2 separate regions of the Homo sapiens genome follow, and region 1 is linked to region 2. Evidence: promoter capture Hi-C in 16 types of primary human blood cells and fetal thymus (Javierre and others, 2016). All regions are on one chromosome and are shown on one strand. Each heading gives the region's core, a stretch centred on a gene start or on the middle of the fragment in contact. The rest is flanking DNA. Distances are from core to core; before and after follow the strand shown. Region 1 has its middle 19 kb from the start of HOMER3. Region 2 holds the start of HAPLN4 (hyaluronan and proteoglycan link protein 4).

The links. Contacts are between HindIII fragments. The CHiCAGO score rates a contact against its expected background, and 5 or more counts as called.
Region 1: a contact is called between a fragment that was not itself captured here and the fragment with the promoter of HAPLN4 in region 2, in 1 of 17 cell types (erythroblasts). The highest score is 5.9, in erythroblasts.

The regions. Positions count from the first base shown.
Region 1 is chr19:18,957,589-18,962,888 of GRCh38, forward strand. It overlaps the pseudogene RN7SL70P. Among named protein-coding and RNA genes, the nearest start is that of HOMER3, 19 kb to the left of the region's middle. The HindIII fragment of the contact is 568 bases long and covers 1,428-1,995 here.
Region 2 is chr19:19,260,767-19,265,986 of GRCh38, forward strand. It overlaps HAPLN4 (hyaluronan and proteoglycan link protein 4), which reads right to left and starts at 2,038. Exons shown (of 5, transcript NM_023002.3): 1 at 1,964-2,038; 2 at 680-797; 3 at 47-409. The coding sequence starts at 1,966. TM6SF2 (transmembrane 6 superfamily member 2) reads right to left here. Exons shown (of 10, transcript NM_001001524.3): 10 at 3,600-4,107. The coding sequence ends at 3,898. The HindIII fragment of the contact is 10,345 bases long and covers 1-5,220 here.

The DNA.
Region 1 (5,300 bases), core at 462-2,961, 300 kb before region 2:
AGAATAACACATTTTCTTTTTTTTTTTTTTTTTTCTGAGACAGTCTCACTCTGTCGCCCAGGATGGAGTACAGTGGCGCAATCTCGGCTCACTGCAACCTCCACTTCCTGGGTTCAAGTGATTCTCCTGCCTCAGCCTCCCAAGTAGCTGGGACTACAGGCACCCACCACCACGGCCGGCTAAGTTTTGTGTTTTTAGTAGAGATGGGGTTTTACCATGTTGGCCAGGCTGGTCTCAAATTCCTGACCTCAAGTGATCACCGGCCTCGGCCTCCCAAAGTGTTGAGTTTACAGGCATGAGCCACCGAGCCCAGCCAAACACACGTTTTCAAGTTTTCTCCTTCTCCTTTTCCTTTTTTTTTTTTTTTTTGAGACAGGGGTCTCAGTATGTTGCCCGTCTGGAGTGCAGTGGCTATTCACAGGTGTGATCCCACTACTGATCAGCACAAGAATTTTACCTACTCAGTTTCCAACCTGGGCCGGTTCACCTCTCCTTAGGCAACCTGGTGGTGGTCTCCCGCTCCCTGGGAGGTCACCATATTGACACCAAACTTACTGTAGTCACCCAATTGGCATAGTGCACTACAGCCCAGAACTCCCGGATTCAAGTGATTCTTCCACCTCAGTCTCCTGAGTAGCTGGGACTACAGGCATTCATCCCTGAACCCAGCTTTTCAGCATTTTTGATGAATACTTAAGACCACATCACCTTCCATACAGGGGACCTTACTTGGCTCCCAGCAGTGATGGGTGAGTGTGTCCATTTCTCTGAATGTCTGACATTTGCAAATGAATGTTAGAGATATTTGCTTTGCAAGATGTAGATTAAAATCAGAAGCCATAAACCAGGCATGGCGCCTCGTGCCTATAATCCCAGCACTTTGGGAGGCCCAGGATGGAGGATCGCTTGAGTCCAGGAGTTCGAGACCAGCCTGGGCAACACAGCAAGATCCTGTCTCTACCAAAAAAAAGTTTTTGTTTTTGTTTTTGTTTTTTTGAGACAGAGTCTCACTCTGTCATCTAGGCTGGAGTGCAATGGCACAATCTTGGTTTACTGCAACCTCCGTCTCCCAGGTTCAAGCGATTCTCTCGCCTCTGCCTTATGAGTAGCTGGGACTACAGGCACGCACGACCATGTCCGACTAATTTTTGTATTTTTAGTAGAGACGGGGTTTCACCATGTTGGCCAGGCTGGTCTTGAACTCCCGACCTCAGGTGATTTCGCCCACCTCCTTGGCCTCCCAAAGTGCTGGGATTGATTACACACGTTTCCAAACAGTGGATCCCACAAGAAAAGAAGGTGTCATCGTAGGTGACAGAATGGAGGTCCCTGTCTGAGGGAGGGACCGCTGAGCCTCAAGTGAGTAGGCTACAAGGCTGGCAGGGAGGTCACCCCATCCTATGGCCTAAGATTGTCCCCAAACATAAAGCTTGAACCCTGAGGCCCCTTGATTGGTTTCCTTGGTCCTTGGCCAGCATTTAAACTCTCCTTTTTTTAAATTTCTTGAGACAGTTTCTCACTCCGTCACCCAGGCTAGAGTGCAGGGCACAATCTCGGCTCACTGCAACCTCTGCCTGTTGGGTTCAAGTGATTCTCCTGTCTCAGCCCCCATGAGTAGCTGGGGCTACAGACATGCGCCACCATGCCCTGCTAATTTTTGTATTTTTAGTAGTAACAGGGTTTCACCATGTTGATCAGGCTGGTCTTGAACTCCTGACCTCAAGTGATCCACCTGCCTCGGCCTCTCAAAGGTGCTGGGATTACAAGGGTGAGCCACCGTGCCCAGCCTACACTCTCTTGACAAAGGTTTTTATAAATCCCAATTTGGCTGGGTGCCGTGGCTCATGCTTGTAATCCCAGTACTTTGGGAGGCTGGGGCCAGGGGATCACTTGAGCCCAGGAGATTGAGACCAGTCTGGGGCAACATGGCAAAACCCATCTCTACAAAAAATAAAATAAAATTAGCCAGGCATGGTGGTGCATGCCTGTGGTCCAAGCTTCTTAGGAGGCTGATGTGGGAGGATCGCTTGAGCCCAGGAATTAGAGGCTGCAGTGAGCCATGATTGTGCCACTGTACTCCAGCCTGGGTGACACAGTGAGACCCTGTCTCGGAAAATAAATAAATAAAAGACTGTCTGGGCCAGGTGCCGAGGCTCACGCCTGTAATCCCAGCACTTTGGGAGGCTGAGGCGGGCAGATTGCTTGAGCCTGGTAGTTTGAGACCAGACTGGCCATCATAGTGAAATCCCATCTCTACTAAAAATAAAAAAATTAGTTGGGTGTGGTGGCGCACACCGATAGTCCCAGCTACTTGGGAGACTAAGGTGGGAGAATCACTTGAGCCTGGGATCAAGGCTGCAGTGAGCCGTGATCAACCTCTGCACTCCAGCCTGTGTGACAGAGTGAGGCTCTGTTTCAAAACACCACCAATGACAAGAAAACCCATGACCGTCCGGGCGCGGTGGCTCGTGCCTGTAATCCCAGCACTTTGTGAGGCCGAGGTGGATGGATCCTGAGATCAGGGGTTTGAGACCAGCCTGGCCAACATGGTGAAACCCCATCACCACTAAAGATACAAAAAATTAGTCGGGCGTGGTGGCACGTACCTGAAATCCCAGCTACGTAGGAGGCTGAGGTAGGAGAATCGCTTGAACCCGGGAGGTGGAGGTTGCAGTGAGCCGAGATCGTGCCATTGCACTCTAGTCTGGGCAACAGAGCAAGACTCCGTCTCAAAAAAAAAAAAAAAAAGAAAATCCATGAGCACTCAGACCTGCAGCCAGTGAAGGCAAGGTAGAGATGGGACCCCACCCTTCAGCCTGTGTCTTACATTTTTAGGGGGCTAATTTAATTTAGAATGTCCAGCAGGGAAGTGTGTCTAGCTGTCCAGTGAGGGGAGCCTCAAGCTATCTTCCCACCTCAGCCTCCCAAACCACTGGGATTACAGGCATGAGTCACTGTACCTGGCCTGAAGGTCCCTTTTACAGATAAGAAAACTGAGGTTCAGGGCCGGCTTCTGCCCCTGCCCAACCTGCTGGCTTCTTCCTCAGCCAGCCCTCTCCAACTACTGCCTATTTCTTTTTTTCTTTCTTTCTCTTTTTTTGAGACGGAGTCTCGCTCTGTCAACAAGGCTGGAGTGCAATGGCATGATCTCGGCTTACTGCAACCTCTGCCTCCCAGGTTCAAGTGATTCTCCTGCCTCAGCCTCCTGAGTAGCTGGGATTACAGGCATGCACCACCATGCCCGCATAATTTTTTTTTTTTTTTTTTTTTGAGACGGAGTCTCGCTCTGTCTCCCAAGCTGGAGTGCAGTGGCGCGATCTCGGCTCACTGCAAGCTCCGCCTCCCGGGTTCACGCCATTCTCCTGCCTCAGCCTCCCGAGTAGCTGGGGCTACAGGCGCCCGCCACCACACCGGGCTAATTTTGTTTTTGTATTTTTAGTAGAGACGGGGTTTCACCGTGTTAGCCAGGATGGTCTTGATCTCCTGACCTCGTGATCCGCCCGCCTTGGCCTCCCAAAGTGCTGGGATTACAGGCGTGAGCCACAGCGCCCGGCTCTTTTTTTTTTTTTTTTTGAGACAGAGTCTCACTGTTGCCCAGGCTGGAGTGCAGTTGCGCCATCTCGGCTCACTGCAACCTCCGCCTCCTGAGTTCAAGCGATTCTCCTGCCTTGGCCTCCCTAGTAGGTGGGATTACAGGCGTGCACAACCATGCCCTGTTAATGTTTGTATTTTTAGTAGAGACGGGATTTCACCATGTTGGCCAGGCTGGTCTCGAACTCCTGACCTCAGGTGATCCACCCGCCTCAGCCTCCCAAAGTGTTGGAATTACAAGTGTGAGCCATCATGGCCAGCCACTACTGCCTATTTCTGCATCTCCTGTTCCAGACAAACGGAAGAAACAAGGCCATTTATTGAGCGCCGGTGATATGCTGAGCGCTCAACCTGCATCCTCAAAGATCGTCGATCCAACAGCCTGCTAGGAGTGGATCAATCGAGTCACAGAGGGGGCTCGACCCCCACTCACTGTAGAGAGGGGAAAGCTGAGGTTCAGAGGTGAAACGATACTCCCGGGGTCACACGGCAAGGACATGTAGGGGCAGGTTTTGGGACGAGGCTATTCCTGCATCCACGGTATAGAAAGAAGGCGGGGCGCAAAGGTCAGCCGGTGCTAGGGACCAGACAGCGGCCCATAGGGAGGAGTGGACTTGGGTCCAGGATGCGCCTGATGGGGCGGGGCTATCTTTATTGGGTGGGCAGTGCAGGACCAGGCTGCCCCATCAGGTGGAAGCGGGGCGAAGTGCACCTGTGCAGAGGGTTTGGGGGCGTGGCTAGAGGCTGAGATGCGCCGGGTGGGCTGGGGCTGGGGCTGGGGCTGGGCGGAGCGGGCGGCTCAGCACTGCAGCGGAAGAGCTTTCTTGCTACACGCAGTTGAGGCTAAGCTACCAGCAGGATGAAAGGATCCTGCTGTGGGTGATCGTGCACAAATAAGGCTGCGAGGTCACGTCGTCCATGCACTGAGAGAAACGAGAGGACCCCCGGCCTCAGCTCCTAGTCCAGCAAATGGAGGCACCATCCTTGACTCCTGTCTGTGCCTGTCTGCGCCTCAGCAAGCCTCAGTCTCCATATCTGTCGAATGGGCATGCCATCCCCGAGATGGAAGGGACCTTTTGTGCACCAGAGCTGGTCCCTTCCTTGTGCCCCCACAGCCTCAGAATAAAGCCAAACACCTCACCTGTCCACCCTCAACTCCCTCCACCATCCCCCTTATTCACTGTACTCCAGCCACAGGCTTCCCAGTTGGTCTTTGCACAGGGCAACAACATTACCGCCCCAGAGCCTTTGCATATGCTATCTGAGCCGCCTACTCTCAGTTCTTCCCTATGACTAACTGCTCCTTTAGGAGTCGACTAAATGCTACCATCCTGGCCAAAATAGCCTCCCCTCTCTGCAGTTTCAAATCCATGGAGGGAGTGGATTTTGGGCTAACTGGATACTACTACAAAAAATATACATATATATGCCCGGTGCAGTGGCTCACGCCTGTAATCCCAGCACTTTGGGAGGCCGAAGCAGGCGAATCACCTGAGGTCAGGAGTTCGAGACCCATCTGGCCAACATGGCAAAACCCCATCTCTACTAAAAATACAAATAAATTAGCCGGCTATGGTGGCACACGCCTGTAATCCCAGCTACTTGGGAGGCTGAGGCAGGGGAATCGCTTGAACCGGCGAGGCGGAGGTTGCAATGAGCCAAGATCGCGCCACTGCACTCTCTGGGGGATAGAGCGAGACTCTGTCTCC
Region 2 (5,220 bases), core at 788-3,287:
CCTCCTTCCTCAGAAGCAAGGTTTATCCTCCCCACCGGCTGATCACCTTCCAGGTCCAGCTTGACCATGCCAGCGTCATCTTCCAGCTCATTGGTGACTTCGCACTCATAGCGCCCGTAGTCTTGCAGCGTGACGTTGCGGAGGACCAGGGAGGCATCCCCAGGCCCGTCGCCCTGCAGCTCAGCCCGCCCACGGTAGCTGCCGAATGCCCGGTGCTGGGGGCCTAGTGCCACGAAGACGTCGGTGAAGGCCAGCGGGTCCACCACCTTTGTCCACTTGAGCCGGACGCCGTCGTGACCGTGGGCGGCTGCCTCATAGTGGTAGCGGCAGGGCAAGACGATGGTGCCACCACGGTGGCTTACCACCTGCCCAGGCGCTGTCTGTACCACTACCGAGCCCGACTCACCCTCTGAGGACAACCAAGCAGGGTTCAGAGGAGGGGCCTAGGGGCAGAAGGGGGCCTCTGGGGAAGGTGTCTCTGGGGAGGGGAACGTGGGAAGACTCGGGTGGGGGTCGGGGAATCAGAAGGGTCCAGGGGCTCAGGGAGAGGGCGAGGGGCTCAGATGGGGAGTGGCTGGGGGAACCGCGGACGTCAGGAACGCCCTACCCGCTACCCCTCTCCGCACTTGGCCACTTCTGCTTTTCGCGGAGAAGACCACTTTTAGCGGCCCTGACTCACCCAGCACGTGCACGACCTTCTTCCGGCCACGCTGCGCCCCCGCAGGGGCTGTGAGCAGCAGGACGCCCCAGGCCGCGGCCCAGAGCGCGCCGGGACCGAGGGCCGCCCGAGCGCACACCTGGGGGGCGGGCACGGGGCGCTCAGTCCAGCCTCCCAGCCTTGGCTTTTCGGAGGCCTGGCTCCCTCCCGGGCCTGCCTTCCCCACAGCGAGGACCTCTCTCACGCCCATGTCCCCACCCTTTCCGGGGTCCTGGAGAACTCCCCCTCCTCCTCTTGGGACCTCACATCCTAGCTTCTGCAAGAACCCACGCCCCTAGACTCCCCCCCGCCCTCAGTCCTGCCCCAGATCCCGCCTCATTCCCCCCCACCCCAAAACCCGAGGCTCGCTGCCCCGCCCCCTTCTGGCCCTGGCCCGGGCCGGGGATAGGGGGGTGGGGAAGAGCTGGAGGAGCGGCGGCAGCAAGGTTATCCGTGCGCCAGGAGACTGCAGCAAACCGGGCCGGGGCGGGCAGGGAGGGGGGAGAGCTGGAGAGAAAGAGGGAGAGACGCGGGGAGAGAACAGGGACAGAGAGAAAGGCAGGGAGAGGCAGAGAAGAGAGTGCGCGACACAGAAAAAGGGGAAGGGAAGAGAGAGAGGCAGAGATGGAGAGGGAGAGACAGATGGAAAAGAAGAGACAGATGTAGAGGGAGAGACAGAGATGGAGAGGGAGAGACAGAGAGGCAGAGGGAGAGACAGAGGGGCAGAGGAAGATACAGAGATGGAGAGGGAAAGACAGAGATGGAAAGGGAGAGACAGAGAGGAAGAGACAGAGAAGCAGAGGGAGAGAGAGAGAGGCAGAGGAAGAGACAGAGATGGAGAGGGAGAGACACAGATGGAGAGGGAGAGACAGAGAGGCAGAGGGAGACAGAGAGGCAGAGGGAGAGACAGAGAGGCAGAGGGAGCGACAGAGAGGGAGAGGGAGAGACAGAAAGGGAGAGGGAGAGACAGGAGAGTGCCAGAGGCAGAGAGACTCAGAGAAGAGGAGGGAGAGATAGGGACAGGGAAAGACAGAAACGGAGAGGAGAGGAAAAAGGCAGAGAGGATGACAGAGATGGAGAGAGGCAGGGAGAAATGGAGAGGGAGAGAACCTAGAGTGCCAAAAAGAGAGATCAAAGAGGGTGAGAGACAGAGAAAAGGAAGAGACAGAAGAAACTCAGAGGGATATAGATTCAGAGGCAGAGAGATATAGAATCCAAGATTGGGGAGACGGGGCACACACCACCCGCGCCCGCAGCCCCACTTACCATCTTGCCCGCGCGGCCCCCGCCGAGCGGCCCCTACGCACCCGGACTGCGCTCCCCGCACACCCGGTTAAGACTGGGCAGGTCCCTGCAGGCGGCGCAATCCCGGCGTCTGCCTGCAAGGGGAGGAGGAAGGCGGGCGAGGCGGGGTGTATTAAAGGGGCCGCGGGGGCCCACGCTCCCCTGGAGCAGTGGCTGGAGCGCGGGCGGAGAAAGAAGCGCTCTGGACTTGGAGTGCAGAGCTAGTTCCCTCACCCTGCTAGCTGAACTTAGGCCAGGGAAGAACCTCTCTGAGCCTCAGTTTAACCATCTTTGAAATGGAGGAGGGGGCTGAGTCTTCTATCTTGGTTACTGTGCTTTGGCAGGGGACCTGGGGGATCTGGTGAAAGAGATCATTTGGCCTGCAGGCCACCTGTCCATTGGGTAGTCATAGTGGAGTCCTGGTCTCCAGCACCCCAAAGGCGCTCCCTGTGCAGGGTGGGGGCCTCACGATAGTCACACTCTGCTGTGGACTGGAGCCACAGGCCCCAATTCAAGTCTGCCCCTCACTGGCTGTGAGACCTTGGAGGAGACAGTTGGCCTCTCTGAGCCTGCTGCTGACTCTTTGGTGAAGATCCAGTAGCTAGACATACAGTAGATCTCCGGTAGGGGTTGGGAGGGGCAAGAAAAAGGGACATCTAGGCCGGGCGCGGTGGCTCACGTCTGTAATCCCAGCACTTTGTGAGGCCAAGATGGGAGGATCACCTGAGGTCAGGAGTGCGAGGCCAACCTGACCAACATGGAGAAACTCTGTCTCTACTAAAAATACAAAATTAGCCAGGTGTGGTGGCACATGCCTGTAATCCCAGCTACTCAGGGGGCTGAGGCAGGAGAATTGCTTGAACCCAGGAGGTGGAGGTTGTGGTGAGCCAAGATCGTGCCATTGCATATCAGCCGGGGCAACAAGAGTGAAAACTCCGTCTCAAAAAAAAAAAAAAAAAAGAAAAAGAAAAAGAAAGAAAGAAAAGGAAAAGGGACATCTGGTCAAGGTCCCTGACTTACTCCAGGCCCAAGTCGCCCCTAAACCTGGCCTTTCACCCAATTTCAAAAAATCAAACAATAGCAAACAGTGAGTCTTTCTCCTAACACCTTGGCTTCCTTCCAGGACTCAGTTTCCCCTAAAATGAGCCCAACCCGACCAGATAGGAGAGGCAGAGTTGTGGTTTCTGTGGTCCAACAGGCTGGGGCTCCATCTCTTAGCTCAGCCATGCCTTGGGGACTGAGCGGGGGAATGATCTCAGACCAGGACCTTCACCTCCTGCAGCCTTGGTTTCCCCATCTGGAATATGGAGTGAGATCCAGCATGTAGCAGTCAAGGTATACAGTAGGTGCTTAATAAATGTATCATGCTATTAGTTATGATTTATTGGTAGAGCAGGAACTTTTCTCTCTGGCCATGACCTTGGGCAGGTCTCTTGTCCATACTGAGCCTCGGTTTTCCCATCTGGAAGATGAGCCGTGCATACCAACCAGAGGCCGCCTTCTGCTATCCCAGCACCTCTCACTCCTGGCAACCACGATGGCAGTGATAGGTGGGCCCTCATGGGGGCCAAGAAGAGGATCCCTTGCCCCTGCACCCTGAAACACTTAGGCAGTGATATTTTGGAAATTGAAAGGGTTTTTACTGAAAGGATCCATGGGGGGATGATGGGTAAGTTCTGGAAGGGGTAGAAGCGTTTGTGTGGGAGTTGGAGCATGGTGACAGCTGTGGGAGGCTCTCCTTGCAGGAACACTTGGTCGTTGGTCTCCATCCCACCCACTGGACTGAAACTACCATAGCCAAGACTAAAGACACCCGGAGATGTCCCTCCTGTCTCTAAAACACCCAACCCCCGCTTCCCCAGGTAGGGCTGACTGGGCACGTAAACAGAGTCCTGGGTCCTGAGTCCACAGCTCTCTCAATGCTGCTTCTTGTGGAGGGCTAGGGGGTCGGAGGGTGGTGGCTGGTGGAAGAATGCGGGCCACTGAAGGCAACGGTAGGCCAGCAGGTGGGGGCCCAGCGCATACAGCAGATTGCACACGAAGAAGCAGCCCCAGGTGTCCTCAGGCACACGGTAGGTGAAGGGTGTGCGCAGGTGCATGGAAGCCCCCATGTGCGAGAACTGTGCCTGGTAGCCAGACAGGGAAGATGGATGTCAGGGGCCAGGAAGGAACTGAAATCCCAGCATCACCGACAGCCCCCCAGGTAGGTCAGGCAGAACCCAGGGGATGCCCATCCCCACCTCTCGGGCTTTGCTCATCTATCTGTTTCCCATCTCCAGTCCATCTATCTGTTTTTTTTTTTTTTTTTTTTTGAGACACAGTCTCATTCTGTTGCCCATGCTGGAGTGCAGTGGTGCAATCTCGGTTCACTGCAACCTCCGCTGCCTCCTGGGTTCAAGTGATTCTCGTGCTTCAGCCTCCTCTGAGTAGCTGGGACTACAGGCGTGCACCTCTATGCCCAGTTAATTTTTTGTATTTTTAGTAGAGATGGGGTATCATCATGTTGCCCAGGCTGGTCTCGAACTCCTGAGGTCAGGCAATCCATCCATCTTGGCCTCCCAAAGTGCTAGGATTACAGGCATAAGCCACCATGCCTGGCCTATTTTTAAAATTTCTATCTATCTATCTATCTATCTATCTATCTATCTATCTATCTATCCATCCATCCATCTATCTATCTATCTATTTAGAGATAGGGTCTTGCTCTGTTGGCCAGGCTGGAGTGCAGTGGCACAATCATGGCTCACTGCAGCCCCAACCTCCTGGGCTCAAGTGATCCTCCAATCTCAGCCTCCCGAGTAGCTAGCACAGCAGGCACGTGCTACCATGCCCAGCTAATTTTTGTACTTTTTGTAGAGACAGGTTTTTGCCATGTTGCCTAGGCTGGTCTCAGACTCCTGGGCTCAAGCAGCCCTCCCACCTCGGCCTCCCAAAATGCTGGGATTACAGGTGTGAGCCACCTCACCTGGCCTTCTGTCTGTAAAGATTCCTGCCCTTACATGTCCTGTCTGTCCCTCCCTGTGCTTGTCCACTTGTCTGTGAGTCCCCCCCAACTTGCCTAACCCCATCTCCTGGGCCCTGCACCCCATCTCTCTCTGACCTGGCTCCAGATCCTCCTCCCAGTCTTCCCCACCCCAGAGGTCTTGGCACAAATCCTGTGGATTCTAAATGTTTTCCTGGTCCCTACTTCCCTGGCCGGGGCCCAGGATTTAGCACTTTTCATCAGGAACCCAGAAAAA